Linked DNA regions of Homo sapiens: region 1 is linked to region 2. The links are contacts of gene promoters, found by promoter capture Hi-C in human tissues and cell types (Jung and others, 2019). All regions are on one chromosome and are shown on one strand. Each heading gives the region's core, a stretch centred on a gene start or on the middle of the fragment in contact. The rest is flanking DNA. Distances are from core to core; before and after follow the strand shown.

What was found. Contacts are between HindIII fragments. The study calls those that stand out against the background at their distance.
Region 1: a contact is called between the fragment with the promoter of ZNF185 here and the fragment with the promoter of CETN2 in region 2, in 1 of the 25 tissues and cell types used here (adrenal gland).

Annotation. Positions count from the first base shown.
Region 1 is chrX:152,895,189-152,900,231 of GRCh38, forward strand. It overlaps ZNF185 (zinc finger protein 185 with LIM domain), which reads left to right and starts at 2,879. Exons shown (of 25, transcript NM_001395254.1): 1 at 2,879-3,050. RefSeq lists an enhancer at 2,131-2,631. The HindIII fragment of the contact is 26,007 bases long and covers 1-5,043 here.
Region 2 is chrX:152,829,265-152,833,560 of GRCh38, forward strand. It overlaps CETN2 (centrin 2), which reads right to left and starts at 1,493. Exons shown (of 5, transcript NM_004344.3): 1 at 1,444-1,493; 2 at 338-496; 3 at 1-13. The coding sequence starts at 1,446. NSDHL (NAD(P) dependent 3-beta-hydroxysteroid dehydrogenase NSDHL) reads left to right here and starts at 1,799. Exons shown (of 8, transcript NM_015922.3): 1 at 1,799-1,853. RefSeq lists a silencer at 1,393-1,732. The HindIII fragment of the contact is 5,705 bases long and covers 1-4,296 here.

The DNA of each region.
Region 1 (5,043 bases), core at 1,629-4,128, 67 kb after region 2:
CCTGCCTCTACCTTTCAGCCTCTTGCCTGCCCAGACAGCCCAGCCTGGCCCCACCCTGAAGCCCCTACCTCTCACTTAGAGCCTTGCTGAGGGCCTGCTTGTTGGTGGGAAGAGACTGTCCAGTCCCCTGGAGGTGGCACTGCTGCCTAAGCTGGAGGGACTTCAGGAGAACTCTGCCAGAGCCAGGGGGTGGGAGCTGGCCTGTCTTGGAGCTGCGGATGGGTGGAAAAGTGCAAGAGATGTGAATAGGAAAGGATAGGGCCAAGCTCAGGCCAGGTAGGGACAGAGCCCAGCCTGGAGGCAGGCAGCAGCCACCACAGCCTTGGCCTAGAACTTGAGGGAGGTCTAAGGGAAGGTTCATGAAGGAGATAATGTTACTGCTGAGAGAAAGTGGAGGCCACCTGGTGTCCCTGGGGAGGAAATGTCATTCCAAACAAAGGGAGCATCTTGTGCAGCGTCCTGGTGGTATTTGAGCACTTGGTCTATCTGGGTACATGTCATTTGGGCATGTCTGGTGCTTGAAGAGGCTGAAGAAGCCAGCAGGTGCCTGAAGCCTGGCTGAGGTGACTAGAGGTGCCCTGGCAGGCGTGGAAGTGGAAGACTGTTGGGGCAATGGACAGGTGGGCAGGGCAGGGCAGGGCAGTTACCATTCAAGTCAAACCCGTTTGCAGGCAAGATCAGCTGCAGGGCCTGGCAGCCTGGCAGGGAGGGAGGGGTTCAGGGAAGGCTGATCTCTTTGGCTGGAGCAGTCGTGACAGATCGGGCCTGGGCAGAGACTGAGTCACCTGGGACATGGGAAGAGCTTGAGGCCCTGGGGCGGCCCAGCCTGGGGCAGTCCTCACTTGCTGGCCGTGCCGTTGGACACCACATTTGCTCATGCTCTCCAGCTGGGCCCCCCACCCCTGACTCAGGGCTCTTGAACAAGTTTGCCTTTTCCCTCTTCCTTGCCCTACATCTCACCCATCATGATGTCTTCTACCTTCTACCCTTTCAAACTAGGGGCTCTTGAAGAGGACTGGGACCCAGACAAAGAGTATGACACAGCCTAAGTCATACAGTAAACATGTTTAGGAGGTAAGATGCCAAGCCAAATCCATGGCCACCAGTAGCCACAGTGGAGGAGGGGAGGTGTTAGTTGCTGGCCACCAGACAGGGGCATACAATATTGGAAGCAGAAAAATGCTTGTTGGCAAGAGACGGACATGAACAGAAGTGACTTTATATACAACCCCCTAAGCACACACAGGGTCGCCTTCTCCCTATCTCATGAACCCCAAGAAGAAAAGGATGAGGACAGCTTCCACAGCCTCACTCACCCATCCATCACTTCCTTCTGCAAATTCTTCGGATGCCCTGTGCTGGTCTCCGTGACCCAGTGATGAATCAGAAGGGGCCCTGCCCTCCCAGAGCTCAGGATCTAGAACAATAGAGGGTGACAGCCACTATGCTGGATTGATGTCATCTGAGGGAACTAAGGGGTGCACAGAAGGAAGTGATCAGCTCGACTGGGTGGCAGGCAGGGGAGGCTTTCCGGACACTGGGTGGAGGCTTGAAGAATGACTAAGAGCTCACTAGCCCGACGGGGATGAAGAGCATTTTAGGGAGTCCGAGGAGCAGGAGCAAACACCCCAAGGTGAGCGCCATGTGATGTATTCAGAAGGCAATGGAAAAAGGCCAGTGTGGCTGTAATGTATTGAACAAAGGGAAGAGTGGCTGGACCTGCAGGGATAGGTCGTCTCAAGGAGTCTGGCTTTTACCCTGAGAGCAATGGGAAGCCATGGAGGAGTTGCAAGCAGGAGAGCACCTGATCATATTGACACACGTGAACTTTTAACCTGACCTCCGTGTAGAGACTGAGGGAAAGGAAGGCAAGACCAGAGGCAGGGGGACACCAGCAAGGAGGCTGGTCTTCGGGGCCAGGTCTGGACTAGGGTGGTGGCAGCAGGCACAGGGAGAAGTGGGTGGACTGGAGGGCCATGGAAACACCACATTGGCAGGCCTTGATGAAGGAGAAGCAGCTGGTCCATTCTTTTGAGCCTACCACCCTGGTAGGCCAACTCCTGGCCAAGTCCATGCCATTTCTTGGGCTGGCTTAATTGTCTCCCTGTTTGGGAGGCCGTGGGGTGAGGGGTCTTTCCTCCATGCTCTCTCCATCCTTAGCCCCAGCCCAGGGCCTTGCACACAATAAAGCACTCGGTGAGCACCAACGCGTGACACAGGTACATCAAACCGCATTGGCTCTGGGAGTCTGGCTGTATCTCGTCGCCCAGCCTGGGAGATAGCCCCGTTTGCTGTGCCTTGTGAGCCCCGGGTCCGTCCCAGGATGGCCTTCCACGATGAGCGGCTCCCTCACTCTTCTCCTCCTTTCCTGCCTGCAGGACTTCCTGGATGATCTCAGCCGCCAGCCCCCCGCCCCCCTCCCCGCCCCTGTCTGGGATCTCCATCTGTAAAATGGATCTAGGAACGGTAGTTCTCGACTGAATTAACCCGACAGCATCTGTGGAAGTCGTTGGCCCTGTGCCGGGGCCAGATCGCGCAACTAGGAGCGGGGGCCCTTCACGTGGCGGAGGCTTCCCGGCCTGGGGGCCACGGGCCCGGAGGAATTTGCCTGGAAGTTTTCCATCACGGCAGAGCCTTCTGGAGCTCGCCCCGTGCTCGACAAGGGGAGCCCCAGACTTGATTTCTCCAGCAGCCCCGCGGGGCGGGGCCGAGAAGGGGCGGGCGGGCGGAGGACGCTGGCGGGAGAATGTGCGGAATGTGCCAGGCGCCTCTACCTACCCCAGGAGGGGCAGAGGAAGGGGCCGGCCGAGGGGAGGGGCGAGGGGCGAGGCTCCGGGCGGCCGGAGAAAACCTGTTTGTTCTCCTGCGGGCGGAGCCCAGTCCGCGCCTCCTCGCCTCCCTGCGCGCTCCCCGCTGTGCACCGCGCCCCGCGCCCCGCGCCTGCCTCCCCGGCCCGGCCCGGCCCGGCCGGGCGCCGTCCACCCGAGGGAGCCCGCGCCCTGCGACTGCCCGACCCTCCACCCGCCCCACGAGCCGGGCACCGGTGCCAGGTAGGGCTGTCGAGTCGCCATTGGATGCGGCCCTGCTTGGAGGCAGTGGGGGGCACCCAGTCCGTGCCCAGCTGGGGACAAGTCAGGGCCTCAGTTTCCCCATCCATAACCCTTACCAGCTCCAAGCATCTCTCTTCGGGTTCCCCCCGGGAGTCAGTGGATTTCTGGTTTTCGCTGTGAGTGAAAAGACTGACAGGCAGAGGAGGCCAGCGTCCCCTACAGAGGCAAGTGTCCCCCTTGCCAGCCTGATCCCTCTGTCTTGCCCTTTAGGAAAGACACGGTTTAATTGTTAGTAAACGGCGAGGGGCCAGGATGCTCTGAGAGTTGACTGCAGGCCTTTAAGAATCAGGGAATCTCATATCCCTCCGTCCCCCTGTGCCCATTTTATAGATGAGGAAACTGAGACCCAGAGGCTGGCTCACCCAGAGGATCCCCTCAATCGCCCTGGGGCCTGTGAGGTGCATGTGCTGGGTACAGGGCAATCTTGGGGAGGGCCATGAGGATGGTGGCTGCTCACACTCAGACAGAAGGCGCCGAATCAGGTGTCACTGGGTGTTATCGACAGGATCGGCACTGCACCAGCTCTGTGGCTGGATTGTTTTGATGGGGGCAGAGGGAGCCAAGAGTCTGTCCTCTTTGGAAAGGCAGAGGGATACCTTGCCTTACAAAAAGGCCGAAAGCTCAGGTGCTCCTGCCTGATCTGCCACTTCTGAGCTGGGGACACCTGGGTACTCTGTCGGTTTAAGGGGGTGACACGTCAAGCTGCCTCCCACCCAGGGCTGCTGGGGACTCAGATAAAGTAGGTGGTGGGTGTGTCCCGGCTTTGGGACATCTGAGGCATGGTAGGAGTTGTGTTCTTGCTGAGCCGTCGGCACGAAGCCTTGGCATCATGGGAGGCCCCAAAGCTGTGAGCCCCGAGAGAGGGCCTCTCACACCCCATCCAGCAGTGCTTGAGGCTTCAGTACCTGGACTAAGTCCTGCCTTGGTCTCATGGCCCTTCAGACTTCTGGCTGTCGTACCTGGCTGGGGGCGGGAGGCAGGGGTGCACAGGTTGATAGGCCTGAACAGAGCTGCAGAGGTCCTGCCTTCCCAGGGCCTCCGCTCCTCATCTGAAAAACAAGGGGCAGCTCAGAGGCCAGCAAGTGGCCAAGACACAGATGCACAGATGAGGGGCCAGCCTTCTGGCAGGCCTTGGTGCCTCCGCTGTTCCCCTCATCGCTCCCAGGCCACTTCAGGATGGGAAGGAACAGATCCCTCTCACCTGCCCCTCCTTCCAGCAATTCCCAGCCCCTGGCTGGATGCTGTGCATTCAGCCGTGTGGAGCTGATGGAAGGCACTCAGTGCAGGGCCAGACACGCAGCAGGTGCTCAAGATCTGTTCATTTCCATCCTCTGGACACTCATGACTCAAGCAACAGAGGTGGCCCAGGACCACTTAGGATGTTGCAGCTCCGAGTAGCATGAAAACATTAGGGGTTCCTCAGTCCTGGAGCAGCGAGGCACCCCTGGCTGGGAAGATCAGGGAAGGCTTCCTGGAGGCGAAGGGCTTGGAAGCAGGAGGAGGAGCTCGGCAGCCACCAGGTCAAGGCCCGCACGTCCTTTGGAGCTGCTGGAGTCTAACCTCCCCGTTACTCCTGAAAGATCATAAACCACTTCTTGCTGAGCTCCTGCATATGGGGGCCCACAGAGAAATCAGCTCCATGCCTTGCCCTGAGGAGTGACAGAGAGGCCATCTGTCAGTAAGAAGTTGCCATCTGAATCCAAATGGCAGCAGTGCTTGTCCACCTCACTTCCTGCTCAGCTCAAGTCCAGACTCCAGAAAAAGCCTTTCCCACGTGAGGCCAGTGATGCCAGGGGCAGCCAGCGCCTCAGCTCAGCCTCCCTCAGCCTGACTTGTGCTCCTTGTCTTCCTGCCCAGTGTCCCCAAGGCCTCCTGAGATCTGGCAGGGCAGGGACTCTGGGTCCCTAGCACTGGGCCCAGGACCTGGCCACGA
Region 2 (4,296 bases), core at 243-2,742:
CCCTCATTGCCACCTATAAAGAAAACAGGATCGTCTCAATAAGCACATCTAAAGTAGCAGGAGCAAAAATAACAGTGTTGAGAGCATTAAGCCAGCATCTGATGTGGTCATGTTAATATGATTGGGGAACACTATGACATTGATCTAATTGATATTTGCAATCAATTTTATTGAATAATACTCAAAGTAAGTAAAGACAGGAAAACAGCACAGTACAACCTCCCCTGTTACTTACTGCAGGGAGAAGAGGGCAAAAGGGGTAGAGAGGTGATAGGGAGATGACAAGGAAGAGGCAGAGGAAAGGAAGGGCAGTACGGCAGGAATGCACAGAGCTTGCCTTCAGTTCTTTAACATCTATGGTGCCAGTTCCATCCGCATCGAAAAGATCAAAAGCTTCCCGGATCTCCTGCTTTTGCTCTTCAGTAAGCTCAGGCTTAGGGCTCATTCTTTTTCGCTGAGAACTTGATGCCATGTTTGCCTTCTTAAAGTTGGAGGCCTTTATATGTTATGCAATACACAAGCACAATAATATATCATACAGTCCATATTTACATAACATAGTTACAGACACCCATATGTATTTTTAAAGTCATTTATATAACCAATTCCAAAGCTTTGCTTAAAAAGAAAGATAACAGGGTTTACTGGCAAGAACAATGAATCTTTCCATGAACTTCTACCCCTCCCTTTTCTTTACTGTTGTTTCTAGAAGCAGGGAGATCACTTGTTCAGTAAGGACACCTCTTACTGAAAATCATCCCAAAAGAGAGCCAGTCAAGAAGATGACTGTGAATAACTAGAGATAATCAGCTCTTCCCGAACGTGGGGATCCTGGTTCTGAAAACAGTCTTACGATGCCCACTCCCAGTACTCCCCTTCCCAGTAAGTACTCCGACTTCCCAATTACTTCTAGATTTGGCCAAATATTAGTAAGTTGTTAAGATGTATATTGTGTCAGTACCGAGTAATAAAACTCAATCCATCTGGCACCTTCGTGCCTTCTCCAAGAAGCTAAAGCATCCCCTGAATGCCCCTGTATTTAAATTGTAAAAAACATTGTAACAGAACACGATACACCTTTTCCCAGCTGTGTGTGGAAATTTTGGCAGAATGAGGAGGCCAGGGGGCCAAGGTCTGAGAGAGTCAGGGGCCTGTGAGGGATTCGAGTCTTTTTTGCCCAGGGAGGTTCACCGAGGGGATCAGGGAATGCAAGGGGAGCCCGAGGGGCGGGTGTGGGCCTGTTGTGGGTGAAGAGGAGGCAGCAGCGAAGCGCAGGCCCAGTAGGTTGGTTAGCGTCTGTACCCTACTCTCCCGGGAAAGAGCTCAAAGGAAAGACTGGTGCGCTAAAGCCGAGAAAGGCGCAGGAGAGGCGGCGTGGCCGAGCTGGGGCCTGGGAAGGGCTCAGCCGCTGGGCGTGGGGCGCGACAGAGCGGCAGCACTCACCATAGCCAAAGGAGTCCGCTGCCGGTTGTTAGGCAACCGACGTGTACACTGACTCGGCGCCGTTCCCACCGCCCCGCGCGCGCAGCCCCGCTCCCCATTGGCCGTCCGCTCGTCGCCGCCTCTCCCTATTGGTGCAGGGCCGAAGAGGGTGGGACTAACCTGGCAAAGCCCCGGCCCAGCGCGGGGAGGGGCACGCTGGCGACAGAGCCCCGTCTTTATTGGGCAAGATCACGCCGTGAGCGCCAATTGGCTGAGTCGTCGCCGAGCTGGGCCAATCCTCTTGGTGGAGGAAGCTCGGCTGATTCTCGGCTCACGCGGGAGGGGAGTAAAGGGTGGCGGTCCGGGCCTGGAGTTCAGTGGGTGCAGCCTGCTTGCGAGCTGAGGCCAGACAGGGGGGCGCCTACGGACGGGTAAGAGTCGTGGCCTTGCCATTGGAGGTCACCCTGTGTCAGCGACTGGGCAGTGCGGGAGGGTGGGGAGCTACGGGGTCGCCCGGGTCGGGTGCTTTCTGGGTTGACCTAAGGCTGAGTTTAGGGACCGAGTGCATCAGAGCAGCCAGAAACGATTACCTTGCGTGTTGGAGCAGGGACTGTACTCACGGGGCAACTGAGACCCGGAGAGGGGAAGGGGTGTGCTGAGTGTTGTCGCAGAGGTCGGACGGCTGGGACCTAGGAACTGAATCCAGCCGAGGCTCGCTCTTTGAGGGTGGCCCTTCGAGAGCACCCCTAGACTGACCCAGATGTATAGGCCCCAGACCAGGTTCCAAGAGAGGATCACTTTAGATCTTACCTGGCTAAAAGCAGCCCAGGACGGTGAACTGGGGCCTTTGGGAACGGACTTTGAAAGGAGTGAGGGGGATGTGAGCGAGCATGAGGGGCGGGGAGAGGTCATCAAAATATACTCTTTTTGACACCCACACAATGCAGATAAGGAGGAGCATTCCAGGCCGAGACGCCCTCATCAGCAGAGTCACAGGAGTTTTGGAAGTGAGAGGTATGCTTGGAGAATTAAAAGGGAGCGTGTGCAAGGGCTGTGGACTGACATAGACCTGCAGAAGTGGAGCTGGAGGTCCAGTTTGCCCTCTTTAGCTATCCCCGTGGCTTTTAGCCTTCACCTGTTTTTCCTCCAGGCATAGGGGCAGTAATCTAGGGAGACAGAGGGCAGAGAGTAAGTTTCTCAGACAGAGAAAGGCCCGAGGCTTATTAGAACCTTTTAAATGGAGCTGCTGCCCTTTGCCCTCTTCTCTCTTCAGCAGTGAACAGATTCCTGACTTTTGGGTCATCATCATCCCCCCAAGTAGTACGAGCCAGAGTTCTCACTGTGATCTCCAAAGCTTGGCACGACGTGTCCCCTTCCATCGCTCCACAACTCTTCTCTCGTCTGGCTCACTCCAGCCCCAGAACACTGGCTTTGTGGTTGAACCTCATGTGCCAGCCACACTCCTGCCTCTCATCTTTGTCTCAGTTGTCCTCTCCGCCTGCCTCCTCTTAGGCACCCTATTTAAGTATTGCAGCCCCCAGTACAAACAAGCCACTCACCTTGCTCTACTTTTTTTTCCAACAGTTCTTATCCCCTTCTGACCTACTGTATATTTTGCTTGTTTGTTTTGCTCTTTGTTGTCCCTCCACTAGAAGGCAGGCTGTCTGAGGGCAGGCATCTTTGTTGTATTCACTACTGGTACTCCAGGACCTAGAACAGAGAGGGGCACATATTAGACAACTGATGAGTAGCTCCCCTGTTTCCCAGCTCTCACCTAGCTAGTCCTCCCTGCTCTACCAGGTTAATCTTCGTAGTGAACGGCCCTGGTCAGGGCATCTCCCTGCTCTTAAACCTTCAGAGCCTGAACCGTAAAGGGCTCCTTAGCCTGGCCTGTGATCCCTCTGCCCAGTTTTGCCCCTGGTAACCCTTCTAGCTTAATGTCCCTCCATACCTTGCTTCCCAGTCCGTCAACCTGCAGATCGGAAGCCTGACAGAGTACAAGGGAAAAACACAAGTTCTGCGCAGGCTGTGTGCAGGCTGTGTGACCTTGGGCAAGTCGCTTAACCTCTCTGAGCCTGTTTCTCATTTGTTGAGTGAGACCAGTACTGTCTACCTGATGGGATACTTTTGCATCTCAATGGGATGAACTACTTATATGTAAAGTGGCCTGATGTTGAGCAGGTCTTCAGGCAGTATTACAGTTGACCCCTGAACAACATGGGTTTGAACCTTGTGAGTCCATTTACAGGCAGATTTTTTTCTCATCTCTCCCACCGCTGAGCAGCAGGATCAGCTCCTCCTCATCTTCCTTCTCAGCATACTCATCAGGAAGACCGTGAGGATGGAGACCATGATGATCCACTTTCACTCAGTGAATAGTAAATATATTTTCTCTTCCTTATGATTTCATAGTAACATTTTCTTTTCTCTAGCTTAATTTATTGCTGGGACACAGTATGTAATACATGTAATGTACAAAATATTTGTTCATCAACTGTTTACATTATTGGTAAGGCTTCCAGCCAACAGTAAGCTATATTAGTGAAGTTTTAGGTGAGTCAAAAGTTATATGTGGATTTTTGACTTCGGGGCTCCGTGCCCCTAACCCCCACATTGTTCAAGAGTCAAATGTAGTTCTTGTCTCTGATTTGCTCTTGTCATTCCCCCCCGCCCACCATGCCTGGAGCCTTAGACTTGTCCAAAATCTCTTCCCTGCACTGCAGCCAAGGTGATCTTTCCAGTCGCAACACTCACTCCTGCTTCCAACTTCTAGGGGCTCCACCATCTTTCCCCCCTTGTAACTCCCTAGCTTGGCACACAGCCCCCACATGTTCTCAACTTTGCTCCCGATCTTGCTTCACACTTGCTGTGACA